3 separate regions of the Homo sapiens genome follow, and regions 1 and 2 are each linked to region 3. The links are contacts of gene promoters, found by promoter capture Hi-C in blood cells and fetal thymus (Javierre and others, 2016). All regions are on one chromosome and are shown on one strand. The core of a region is centred on a gene start or on the middle of the fragment in contact, and the rest is flanking DNA. Distances in the headings are between cores, read along the strand shown.

What was found. The method cuts DNA at HindIII sites, captures the fragments that hold promoters and counts their contacts. A CHiCAGO score of 5 or more calls a contact.
Region 1: a fragment that was not itself captured here is called in contact with the fragment with the promoter of RUVBL1-AS1 in region 3 in 5 of 17 cell types (megakaryocytes, endothelial precursors, naive B cells and 2 more); the score reaches 9.8 in megakaryocytes.
Region 2: a fragment that was not itself captured here is called in contact with the fragment with the promoter of RUVBL1-AS1 in region 3 in 1 of 17 cell types (megakaryocytes); the score reaches 5.5 in megakaryocytes.

The regions. Positions count from the first base shown.
Region 1 is chr3:127,656,399-127,660,077 of GRCh38, forward strand. All of the region lies in intron 2 of PODXL2 (podocalyxin like 2), which reads left to right. Among named protein-coding and RNA genes, the nearest start is that of ABTB1, 15 kb to the right of the region's middle. The HindIII fragment of the contact is 157 bases long and covers 2,236-2,392 here.
Region 2 is chr3:127,638,409-127,641,928 of GRCh38, forward strand. It overlaps PODXL2 (podocalyxin like 2), which reads left to right. Exons shown (of 8, transcript NM_015720.4): 2 at 837-1,115. Among named protein-coding and RNA genes, the nearest start is that of PODXL2, 11 kb to the left of the region's middle. RefSeq lists an enhancer at 437-937. The HindIII fragment of the contact is 5,314 bases long and covers 1-3,520 here.
Region 3 is chr3:128,073,931-128,077,634 of GRCh38, forward strand. It overlaps RUVBL1-AS1 (RUVBL1 antisense RNA 1), which reads left to right and starts at 1,880. Exons shown (of 2, transcript NR_046645.1): 1 at 1,880-2,149. It also overlaps a transcript of RUVBL1 not described here and the pseudogene RNU2-37P. RefSeq lists silencers at 1,537-1,586, 1,597-2,036, 3,378-3,477. The HindIII fragment of the contact is 15,687 bases long and covers 1-3,704 here.

The sequences.
Region 1 (3,679 bases), core at 1,064-3,563, 420 kb before region 3:
GGGCAACACAGGGAGACCCCATCTCTACAAATAATAATTTTAAAGAATTAGCCAGGTGTTGGGCGCGGTGGTTCACGCCTGTAATCCCAGCACTCTGGGAGGCTTTGGTGGGTGGATCATGAGGTCAGGAGTTCGAGACCAGCCTGGCCAACATGGTGAAACCCTGTCTCTACTAAAAATACAAACATTAGCCGGGCGTGGTGGTGCATGCCTATAGTCCCAGCTACTCAGGAGGCTGAGGCAGGAGAATTGCTTGAACCTGGGAGACAGAGGTTGCAGTGAGCCAAGATCGCGCCACTGCACTCCAGCCTGGGTGACAGAGCAAGACTCCATCTCAAAAAAAAAAAAAAAAAAAAAAAAAATAGCTAGGTGTGGTGGTGTGTGCCAGTAAGTCCCAGCTACTCAGGAGACTGAGGTAGGAGAATTGCTTGAGCTCAGGAGTTCGAGACCAGCCTGGGCAGTGTAGAGAGACCCTGTCTCTACAAATAATAAAAAAATTTAGCGGGGTGTAGTGGCCCTGTGGTCCCAGCTGCTTGGGAGGCCGAGGTGGGAGGATCACTTGAGCCTCGGAGTTTGAGGCTGCAGTGAGCCGTGATTGCACCACTGCACTCCAGCCTGGGTGACAGAGTGAGACCCTGTCTCAAAAGCAGAACAAAACCTGAAGCCCAGAGAAGTTGGAGGGACTTACCACTGCGTGCGCAGATAAGTTAGTGGCTGAGTCCCAGATCATGCTGCCGACAGCGTGACTGATGATGCATCTCTGAGGAGGCTGTACACAGTTTAGGGAGTTCTGTTGGTGCCCTCTGGAGATGTTGATGCTCTCTCTGACTTTTGGAAAGTCAGCACCAAATTGAGTAGAGAGATCGTTTTAGTCAGCTTGCCCTCCCAGGACTTCCCCACCCCATGGGATTCTGCTGATGGGTGTGTCACCATCCACCATATTCCTGCCATATCCTAGGCTGCATTGAATCCATCAGCTATTTTAAGTGCGTCCTGAAGGTTTCCAATACTCCTTTCCTCTGAACTTCACCATCTCTATTAATGGCTTGGCTACTCCCGCAGCTTCTCCCTGTTGGCCATCTAGCTCACGCATCTGATTACTTCTCTTTCAGAGTCATCTCTTGAGTCTGCTCTTTTCTCATCATCTCCAGTGTCATCACCGCCATGCATCTCTCCCGAATCACTGCAGCAACTCCCTGACTCTTCTTTGCACTTTCATTCATCTACTCCTTCACCTAATCTTGTAAATTGCTGTCAGATTAATCTTCCAATAATGAAATATTATGCTTGTAAGTGATTTCATATATTGTATTTCCTAGGCACCCATCTGACTCCTATTCTGTTACCCAGTATTCCTATCAAGTAATCATCCAGCCCATTTCAGTTATGTTTTCATGCATTATATCTTAATTCTGGATAGATCTGGCTATTATAAAGTTCTTACTTACATTGAGGTAAAATATATTTATTCTTCTATATACTTGTTTTGTGGGTGTGATTTCCTCCTGAATCTTTCTGAAGATATTAACAAGAAACTTTTCTGAATTCTCTTTTGTTAACTAGACTAACTTTTCCTAGAGGTCAGTTGCTTTATGGTCCCACCCTTATGCTTCTTCATCAGGCTGGCTTTCTTAAAATGTCTTGTGAATCTTGGTTGTTCTTTCTTTCTTATTTATCTGTAGTGACTTCACTACAGAGTGTGTGCAGTAGGTGGAAGAGGGGGAGGATCTGCTACTCAAAAAGTCTAATTAACAGAAGTGGACTGGATAGAATATTCTAATTATTGATTTAAATACTATAGTGGGCTTTCAGTTGTCACTAGGATTGTTCAGCTTCTAAGTCATACTTTTTATTACAGGGAATCAATTTTTCTTTTTGAAATAATCGTTCTCAGAGCTCTCTCTGTGTGTTCTAATTTGAACCAATTGCTTTCCAGGCTTACTGCACAGTTTCCATCCTGAGATATATTTTCATTGCATTCCTCTCATGTTTCTTGATTTCCCATGTCTTTTTTTTTTTTTTTTTTTTTGGTTTCTTAAATAACTTACTTAAATCTCTTGGAATCTGTGGATAGTAACACTTTTAAATCTTTGCATGTATGAGAATGTCTTTATTTTGCAATCACACTTGAGTAGTCATTTATTTGGATATAACATTTCAGGTTCAAAATAAACATCCCTCAGATTTTTCAGTGCATTTTTAAATTCTTCCTCTAGGCTACTGATATTAATTAGAAGCTTCATGATAATTTGGTAATCTGTTTCTTGTTCCTTTACAGATAACCTGTTCTTTCTCTGAGAGCTGTTAAGATTTTCTCTTGCTCCTTATAATTCTAAAATCACATGAGAATGAGGCTAGGTGTAAGTCTTTTATCATTCACCTTGATGATACAAGCTTTCATTGCAAAGATTCATGTTGCCAGCTCTGAAACTTTTTTTCTTTGTTTCTCTCCATTATTCTCCATTTTGTTGGTTCTATCTTTCCAGAAATCATATTAGCTAGGTATTAGATCTCCTACATTGGTTGTCTGTATCTTTTAACTCTTATCTGTTGTCTTCTCACTTTTGCCCTAGAGGCTTTTCCTTGACTTTTTTTTTTCCCAGCCATTAAAAATTTGAATTTTCAATCCGTTGAATTTTTAAATATCAACTATTGACTTTCAATATCCAAGAAATTTTTCTTTTTTAAAGATTACTTGATTTTCTGAGTGGCGTCTTATTTTAGGGATGCAATATTTTGTAATCTTTCTGAGGATACTAATTAGACTTTTAAAAATTACCTTCTGTTCTCTGAATTTTCTGTGTTCTACATCCTTGCTCCCACAGTTGTGCCTCTTCCTAACTCTGGGTAAGAAAGCCTGCCTCCTCCCCTGCTATTTTTTCCTATGTTTATTTTGGCTGAGGGGTTATCTGTTCCTATAATCTCATCTGCTTTCCATGTTCCCAGAAATTTCTCTAAAATGTTTTTATCTTCATTTTGACAGTTAAAATTGTTTTTGTCATTTGATAAAAGTTTTGGAGGAGGAGGTAAATGAATACCTTTAGTTCGCTATCTTAAAGTGTTCCCACCACTCTCCTTTCTAAAGAGTATTTTAAAACTACAATATTTATTATTTTGAAACAAAATGGCAGCCAATAAAAGTTGCTTCCTAGATACAGCTTCTGATATTTTGAATGAATTTCCAAAAAACTTGTTGTATAACTTTCATGCATAGTTATTTGGAAGAGGCCTAGGGTTCATTGAAAAGCCAGAAAACAATCTGATCTCCAGGAAGTCTCCTAACTTCTCTGCTTCAAAATGTAATTCCCAAGAATGGCAGGGAGAATAAAAACCCCTCTCCCATTGCCAACAGTGACCCTGAACATTCTGGGAGGCCCTGGAAAACTCTGGGCTCAGCCCCTGGCCTCTCTCTGGCTCTCCCTACATCTTTTTCATTTCCTGTCAGGGCCTAAATTACAGAAAAAGAGCACAGTTGAGGAACAATGGTCATAATTGAGGGGTCTCACTTCCTCCAGTGATGAGAGGGCTCTCAGACCTCCTTCGGGGACTCCACCAAGAAGACTCTTATAACGACTCACTAGAAAAGGAGTAGGGGGACCCTTCCTAGTGGGTTGTTGTGGGATCTTCTTGGTGAAATCCCCAGATGAGGACAAGCAAGCACATTACAAACACAGTGGAG
Region 2 (3,520 bases), core at 887-3,386, 440 kb before region 3:
GTTTTTTAAAAGACTACGTTCAGAGGCTGGGCTCAGTGGCGCACGCCTGTAATGCCAGCACTTTGGGAGGCCTAGGAGGGCAGATCACTTGAGGTCACGAGTTCAAAACCAGCCTGACCAACATGGCGAAACCCTGTCTGTACTAAAAATACAAAAATTAGCCAGGCGTGGTGGTGGGCACCTGTAATGCCAGCTACTTGGGGGGCTGAGGCAGGAGAATCACTTGAACCTGGGAGGCGGAGATTGCAGTGAGCCAAGATTGCACCACTGTACTCCAGCCTGGGCGACAGAGCAAGACTCCATCTCAAAAAAAATAAAAAATAAAAAAACTAAAGACTATGTTCAGGATACTGTATTGCTGAAATACAAATGATATTCATAATGCAGTTTTGGAGAAATTTCAGCCAAGGATGGAAGCCTGGGGAACACTGTGTTCGTCCAATCATACTGCTAGGTCCTTAAAAGCATGGGCCCTGTCTTCACTTCAGTTTGTAGCTCCAACACCCAGTACAATTGCCAACAGAGAGAGGGTACTCAGGAGGCATTTTCTGAGTGACCACATGCGCAGTGGAACACTGACTCAGTGATTCCTCTCTCTCCCCTGCCTGTCTCCATCTGTCTCCCCTTGCCCCTGCCATAGGGAAGTCTAAGCAATTTGGCCTTTTTGAAATGAAAATAGTGTCTCAGAATCCCCGCAAAGCCTCTGGGTTTTCAGGAGTGTCCACTGAAGTCCCCCCTTCCCCAGGACCTTTGTCATTTGAGACATGCTCTAACCTGGCACCAGTCTTGTGTCTTCTCTAGCCTCCCCTGACTGTCTGGCTTTTATGTCTGCACAGGAGCGTTCCTGGGTGCCTGTGTGGCTGGGTCTGATGAGCCTGGCCCAGAGGGCCTCACCTCCACCTCCCTGCTAGACCTCCTGCTGCCCACTGGCTTGGAGCCACTGGACTCAGAGGAGCCTAGTGAGACCATGGGCCTGGGAGCTGGGCTGGGAGCCCCTGGCTCAGGCTTCCCCAGCGAAGAGAATGAAGAGTCTCGGATTCTGCAGCCACCACAGTACTTCTGGGAAGAGGAGGAAGAGCTGAATGACTCAAGTCTGGACCTGGGACCCACTGCAGGTAGCTCTTCTTACCTACAGAGCATGTGTTGAGTGCCAGCCAAGTGTCTAGGCAAAACACCAGGTGACCATTTCCTTGCCAGAAGCATCTCTTCTCTCTCCCTACAGTTTTTACCATGCTGCTGCTGTTTACCTGCACATCAGAGCAAAGGCTCTGGGACCCTGAATGTCTCACAGGCCCAGGAGGCCCTTTCTCTTTAATACTAACCACTGTTTAGGGAGCCTTTATTCTGTGCTCATTTAATTCAATCTGATGCTTATAACCTGAGAGATAAGTAATATGACCCCCCTTGTAGACAAGAAAACACTGAGACTGAGAGGTTAAAAGCTGGCCTGAGGTCAAACAGCAGCTCAGATGCTCAGTCATGATTCAGACCTATGGCTTTCCAAGCCCTGGGGCTCATTGTTTTGTTTTTCCCTACTGCTCTATGCTGTCTCTGTTGAAGATTGCCACAAGGTCAGCTGATCCATGTTTCCTTGAGTCTATCCGACCAGCAATTGAGGCATTCTAACCGCCCTTCCCTCAGTCATGCACCAGAGCTAGAGCTGGTGTTTGGATCTACAGAGCCCAGCTGGTGAACATTTGGGTCCCGAAGAAAGCCCGAGGCCTAGGGCTCCAGGTTTGAATGCCCACCGCCATGAGCTGACATTGATACAGATGCAGGCATGGCCCCTCCACCAATGTCCTGGGCCAGCAGGGCCCCATCTCTTAGTAGGGACTGAGGAATTGGTGTGATTGTGTGTGCACATGGGGCAAGGTGTTACAGAACTTAACCTTTAATTTTTCTTTTTAAAATAGGTAATATTTATTGGATTTACCTTTTCTAATTATAAAAGAACACATGAACATTGTAGAAAATCTGAAACACACAAAAATAATACAAAGAAGAAAATAAGGCTGGGTGTGGTGGCTCACGTCTGTAATCCCAGCACTTTGGGAGGCTGAGGCGGGTGGATCACTTGGGGTCAGGAGTTTGAGAACAGCCTGGCCAACATGGTGAAACCCTGTCTCCACTAAAAATACAAAAATTAGCTGGACATGATTGCGGGCATCTGTAATCCCATCTACTCAGGAGGCTGAGGCAGGAGAATGGCTTGAACCCGGGAGGTGGAGGTTGCAGTGAGCTGAGATCGCACCACTGCTCTCCAGCCTGGGCGACAAGAACAAAACTCTATCTCAAAAAAAAATAAAATAAAATAAAAAATAAAAACTACCTATAACCTGATAATTGAAAGATAATTACTATTAGTAGTTTGGGGATACATTGTTCTAGTCACTTTATGTGCAAAATTGGAATCATAGGGACATTTTGTTTTCACTCAAAATATTTCATAAGTATATTTCCGCATTGTTAAATATCCATTTATAACCTGATTTTTAAACATGTTATTATTTATTTATTTTTTTGAGATGGAGTCTTGCTCTGTCACCTGGGCTAGAGTGCAGTGGCGTGACCTTGGCTCACTGTAACCTTCATTTCCTGAGTTCAAGTGATTCTCCTGCCTCAGCCTCCGAGTAGCTGGGATTACAGGCATGCGCCATCACACCCAGCTAATTTTTGTATTTTTAGTAAAGACAGGGTTTCACCATGTTGGCCAGGCTGGTCTCTAACTCCTGACCTCAAGTGATCTGCCCGTCTCGGCCTCCCAAAGTGCTGGGATTACAGGTCTGAGCCACCGCACCCGGACAACATGTTATTATTTATTTATTTATGTTTAGAGTTGAGGTTTTGCTCCATTGTTCAGGTGTGATCATAGTTCACTGTAACCTCGAACTCCTGGGCTCAAGCGATCCTCCCACCTCAGCCTCGTAGGTAGCAGGGACCAAAAATGTGCCACCATGCCTGACTAATTTTTTCATTTTTTTGTAGTGATGGGGTCTTGCTATGTTGCCCAGGCTGGTCTTGAACTCCTGGGCTCAAGCGATCCTCCTCCCTTGGCCTCCCAAAGTGCTAAGATTATAGCTGTGAACCACTGTGCCTGGCTTATAACTTGATTTTTTTTTCTTGAGACGGAGTTTTGCTCTTGTTGCCCAGGCTGGAGTGCAGTGGTGCCATCTTGGCTCACCACAACCTCCGCCTCCCAGGTTCAAGCGGTTGTCCTGCCTCAGCCTCCTGAGTAGCTGGGATCATAGGCATGTGCCACCATGCCCGAATAATTTTGTATTTTTTTTAGTAGAGACAGGGTTTCTCCATGTTGGTCAGGCTAGTCTCGAACTCCTGACCTCAGGTGATGTGCCCACCTCGGCCTCCCAAAGTGCTGGGATTACAGGCATGAGCCACCGTGCCCAGCCCTGATTTTTAACAACTACGTTATATTTCATCATGTGGGTCATCAGGTGTATTAAACTGGTTCCCTACTGTTGAATACTTAGGTTGTCTTCAGTTTTAATTCTGCTACAAATAT
Region 3 (3,704 bases), core at 630-3,129:
TCTCCAAGATATGCTGTCAAGGAAGAATACAGAAAGCAAGAAACAATAGCGTATGCTACCATTTGTGTTTAAAAGGGGGGTAGGAAGTGACTAATAGACTACATCAGGAAAAGGTGTAGCAATTTCCCATAAAACTAGACATACACTTACCCTACACCCAGCTATTCTACTCCTGGGTATTGAAACCCAAGATGAAAATATATGCCTATACAAAGACTTGTACAAGAATGTTCATAATAGCTGAAAAATAGGGAACAGCCTAGGTGGCCATCAACAGGCAAATGGATACATGTGGTGGATCCACAGGGTGGCATTTTACCCAGCAATAAAAAATAAACTATCCATACACACAACATTCAGGAGCTCAAAAGCTAAGTGAAAGAAACAAGTCATGTTGTATGATGCCATTTACATGAAATTCTAGAGCAGGAAAACCTAATCTATTGCAAAAAAAAAAAAAATTCTAACAGTGGTTGCCTCTAGTGTGTTAGAGATTGGCACAAGGAACTTTCTGGGCAATAGTAATATCCTTCACTGGGATTTGGGTTTCATTAGTCAGAACTCATGGAGTGCTCCACTTAGGATTTGTACATTTCACTGTATTTTTAACGTTTAAAAATAACCATAAGCAGCCGGGCACAGTGGCTCATGCCTGTAATTCTGGCACTGTGGGAGGCCAAAGCAGGTGGATCACCTGAGGTCAGGAGTTCAAGACCAGCCTGACCAACATGGAGAAACCCCATCTCTACTAAAAACACAAAATTAGCTGGGTGTGGTGGCATGCGCTTATAATCCCAGCTACTTGGGAGGCTGAGGCAGGAGAATCACTTGAACCCGGGAGGCGGTGGTTGCAGTAAGCTGAGATGGCGCCATTGCATTCCAGCCTGGGCAACAGGAGCGAAACTCCGTCTCAAAAAAAAAAAAAAAAAAAAAAACTTAAAAAACCATAATCAAGTACTGAACTCTAGATAATTATACACATGCTTAACTATTTACAGAGGTTGTTGTATCTGCAACTCACTTTGAAATGCACAGAAGACTGACAAGACTGACTGGCAGGCAGACAGGGGGATGGGCAGTGCAGTGCCTAGATGACAGGGATATGGGGGCTCACCTGCAATCCTTTTTTTTTATTCCCCCAAAGGGGGTGCACTATTCCTGGAGGTACTGCAATACCAGGTGGATGCATGGAGTGGAAAGAGCAAGGTCCTATTCCATCTCCCTGCTCCAAAAATCCATTTAACATACTGTCCTCAGATAGCAGATATTAAAGTGATAAGAACACTACACTTGATCTTAGCCAAAGGCTGAGAGGCGATTGCCTGTAATTCTTGCAGTTTTCCATGTGATATGTTTCATAATGAGTGTTGGGAAGGTCCTGTGAGTGTGTGCTGCCTCACCCAGGTCCTGGCCATCTCTAGAGGAACACACCGGTGTAAGGCAGGCGCTTCCGGAAAGGGAACAGGAGGCAGGGGGCAGGTGTCGAGGTAGGTTTTCACGGTACACGCCTTTGGCAATTTTGCATCAAAAAACTAAGTGTATGCACATTTTTTTTAATTGAAAGCCCAACTCAGCCTTCCCCCACTGCTCCTTCCCCGCATGCACGGGGGGACACACGCCTTCCTCCCTGCCTGCCGGGACTTCAACCTCGCTTGCTGGGAAGTCGCGCACTTTCGTCGCGACTTCCCAAGTCGTGCTGGGTGTGACTTGGAATCTCGGATCCCTGGGCTAGGCCTGGCCACGCCCCCATGGGGGGAGGGGCAGCGCGGCGGGGGCGGAGCCTGGGCCCGAAACGCCACGGGCGCGACTCTGTGCGCGTCCGCCCACACGGGGGCGCTGTGTCCTCGCAAGCTCCCGCGGGGTGCCTCGCGGCCCTGGAACGCTGTGGTTTTCGAGGGGAAAAGTGAGAGTGGCTGGTCCTGCCTCCGCTGCCGCTTGGCCCTGAGATCCCCACTGCCCACGGGATAGGCCCCAGTCCACCCAGCCGGGGCCCCCCCCTTCCCCTCGTCTCGCTCTCCTTGGCAGTTCGGACTTCGGGTCAGTCCCACACTCGCGCCCGGCTGTCCCTGCTGCGCTCCTGTCACTGGCATTGGGAAGCCCTCCGGCCCCCTCTCTGCACACCTGGCACACGGCTCCTCCCTGGCGGCATGTGGGTATTTGGGTTGGGCGAGCCTCTCCCTCCCGATTCCCGAGTTCCGAGTGGGTCCCGGCGGACCAGCGCTATTCTGGAGGGGCAGTGCCTCAGAGGCAGGTCGCTTCGAGTGGGGATTTGTGCGCTCTGGCGCGGAGGAGGGGGGTGGGAAGCCGGCTCTTGCCCTCCTCACCCGGTGGGGAGCGAGCAGGGCCAACGGTGCGCTGAGAGCGCTCAGGGCGTCCCCAACAGCATGACCCGACCCAGGGACGAAGCTCTGGGGGACGGGACCACTTGCGATGACAGCTAAAGGAGCACAGGGGGGCGGCCGGCATGGAGAGGCGGGGCCGGCATTCCTGCGGGCCTGCCGGGAGGGTGGGGAACCTGGGATTTAGCCATGGGACCTGTGGAAGGGTTTTGGGTCGGGGTCCTGACCGTCTAGTCTGGGTTCTCAAAGATGGTTGGGACAGTGGGCAGGCTTGCAAAGACCGAAGAGGCTGGTGGACCTGGTGGCTGAGGCCTAGGCCAGGCAGGGATCGCGGTGGGGAGGTCACAGTAGGTGTGGTCCCTCCTCCCCCCACCCCTCAGGCCTAAGTCACTCAGGCCCTTGTGTCACGGTGGCACCGGGACCTCCACCCACTACATACACACGCGCGCGCGCAGCCCCGTGAAAACCTGCGCCGTGTGCCCCAGACCTGCAGCCCGCATCCCGCCGTGTCCCCCGTTCCCTGCATGCGGCTCCAGTGTAAGTGCAGCGTGCCGTGTGCGGCGTCCCAGCCCGCACCCCGCACCCCACCATGTCCCTCTGGGTGCGGGGTCCGCATGCCCGCGCCCTCCCCGCAGCTGCCGGCGTCCCCATTAATCACGCGGCGCTGACGGCGCTGATCTGCGTGCTGGCGGCGTGACGGTGACGGTGACGGCGGGTGACGGAGCGGGCAATCGGCAGGCGCCCATCGGCCCATCTTATCGCGGCGGCCCAGCCGCCGCCCGCTGCGCGCCGCCCATTGATCGCGCCGGGCCCCTGCCCGGGGGTCAGCGCGGGCCGGGCCGGCCTGACAGCCGCATCCGTCGCCGAGACGCGCGCTGATGGCCGCCCAGCCCGCACGGCCTGGCCATTAATCACCGTGCCTGCCGCCAAGTGACGGGAGGGGCGGCAGGGCAGCAGGGGACGACAGGCAGCCCCCGTGGCCGGCCCACCCCTTCACAGTTCCGGGGCCCTGCTGCGTGGCCCGCCCTGCACCCTAAGCTCCCCAGCCCCCCTGCCCAGGCCTCCCTCACCCCCTATCCTCTTATGGCCTGCTCTCCCCAGAACAAATGGAAGGGGAGTGGCTGCATACTGGAGGAAGCAAGAAAGAGGAACTTCTGTGTGGAGAATGAATGGATGACCACGGATGAAGGGGGTGAACACTGTTCTACCTCCCGAGGGACCTCTTTCCCAGACACCAAATGAGAGCAGGTCTGACCTGACAAACACCAGCACTGGCTGGGACAAGGGGGTGGTCATTTCGCCCCCTCTGGCTGCCTCAGCCCTAGCTGAGCCTCACCCAGGATGGGATGCTAGGGCCCCAGTGAG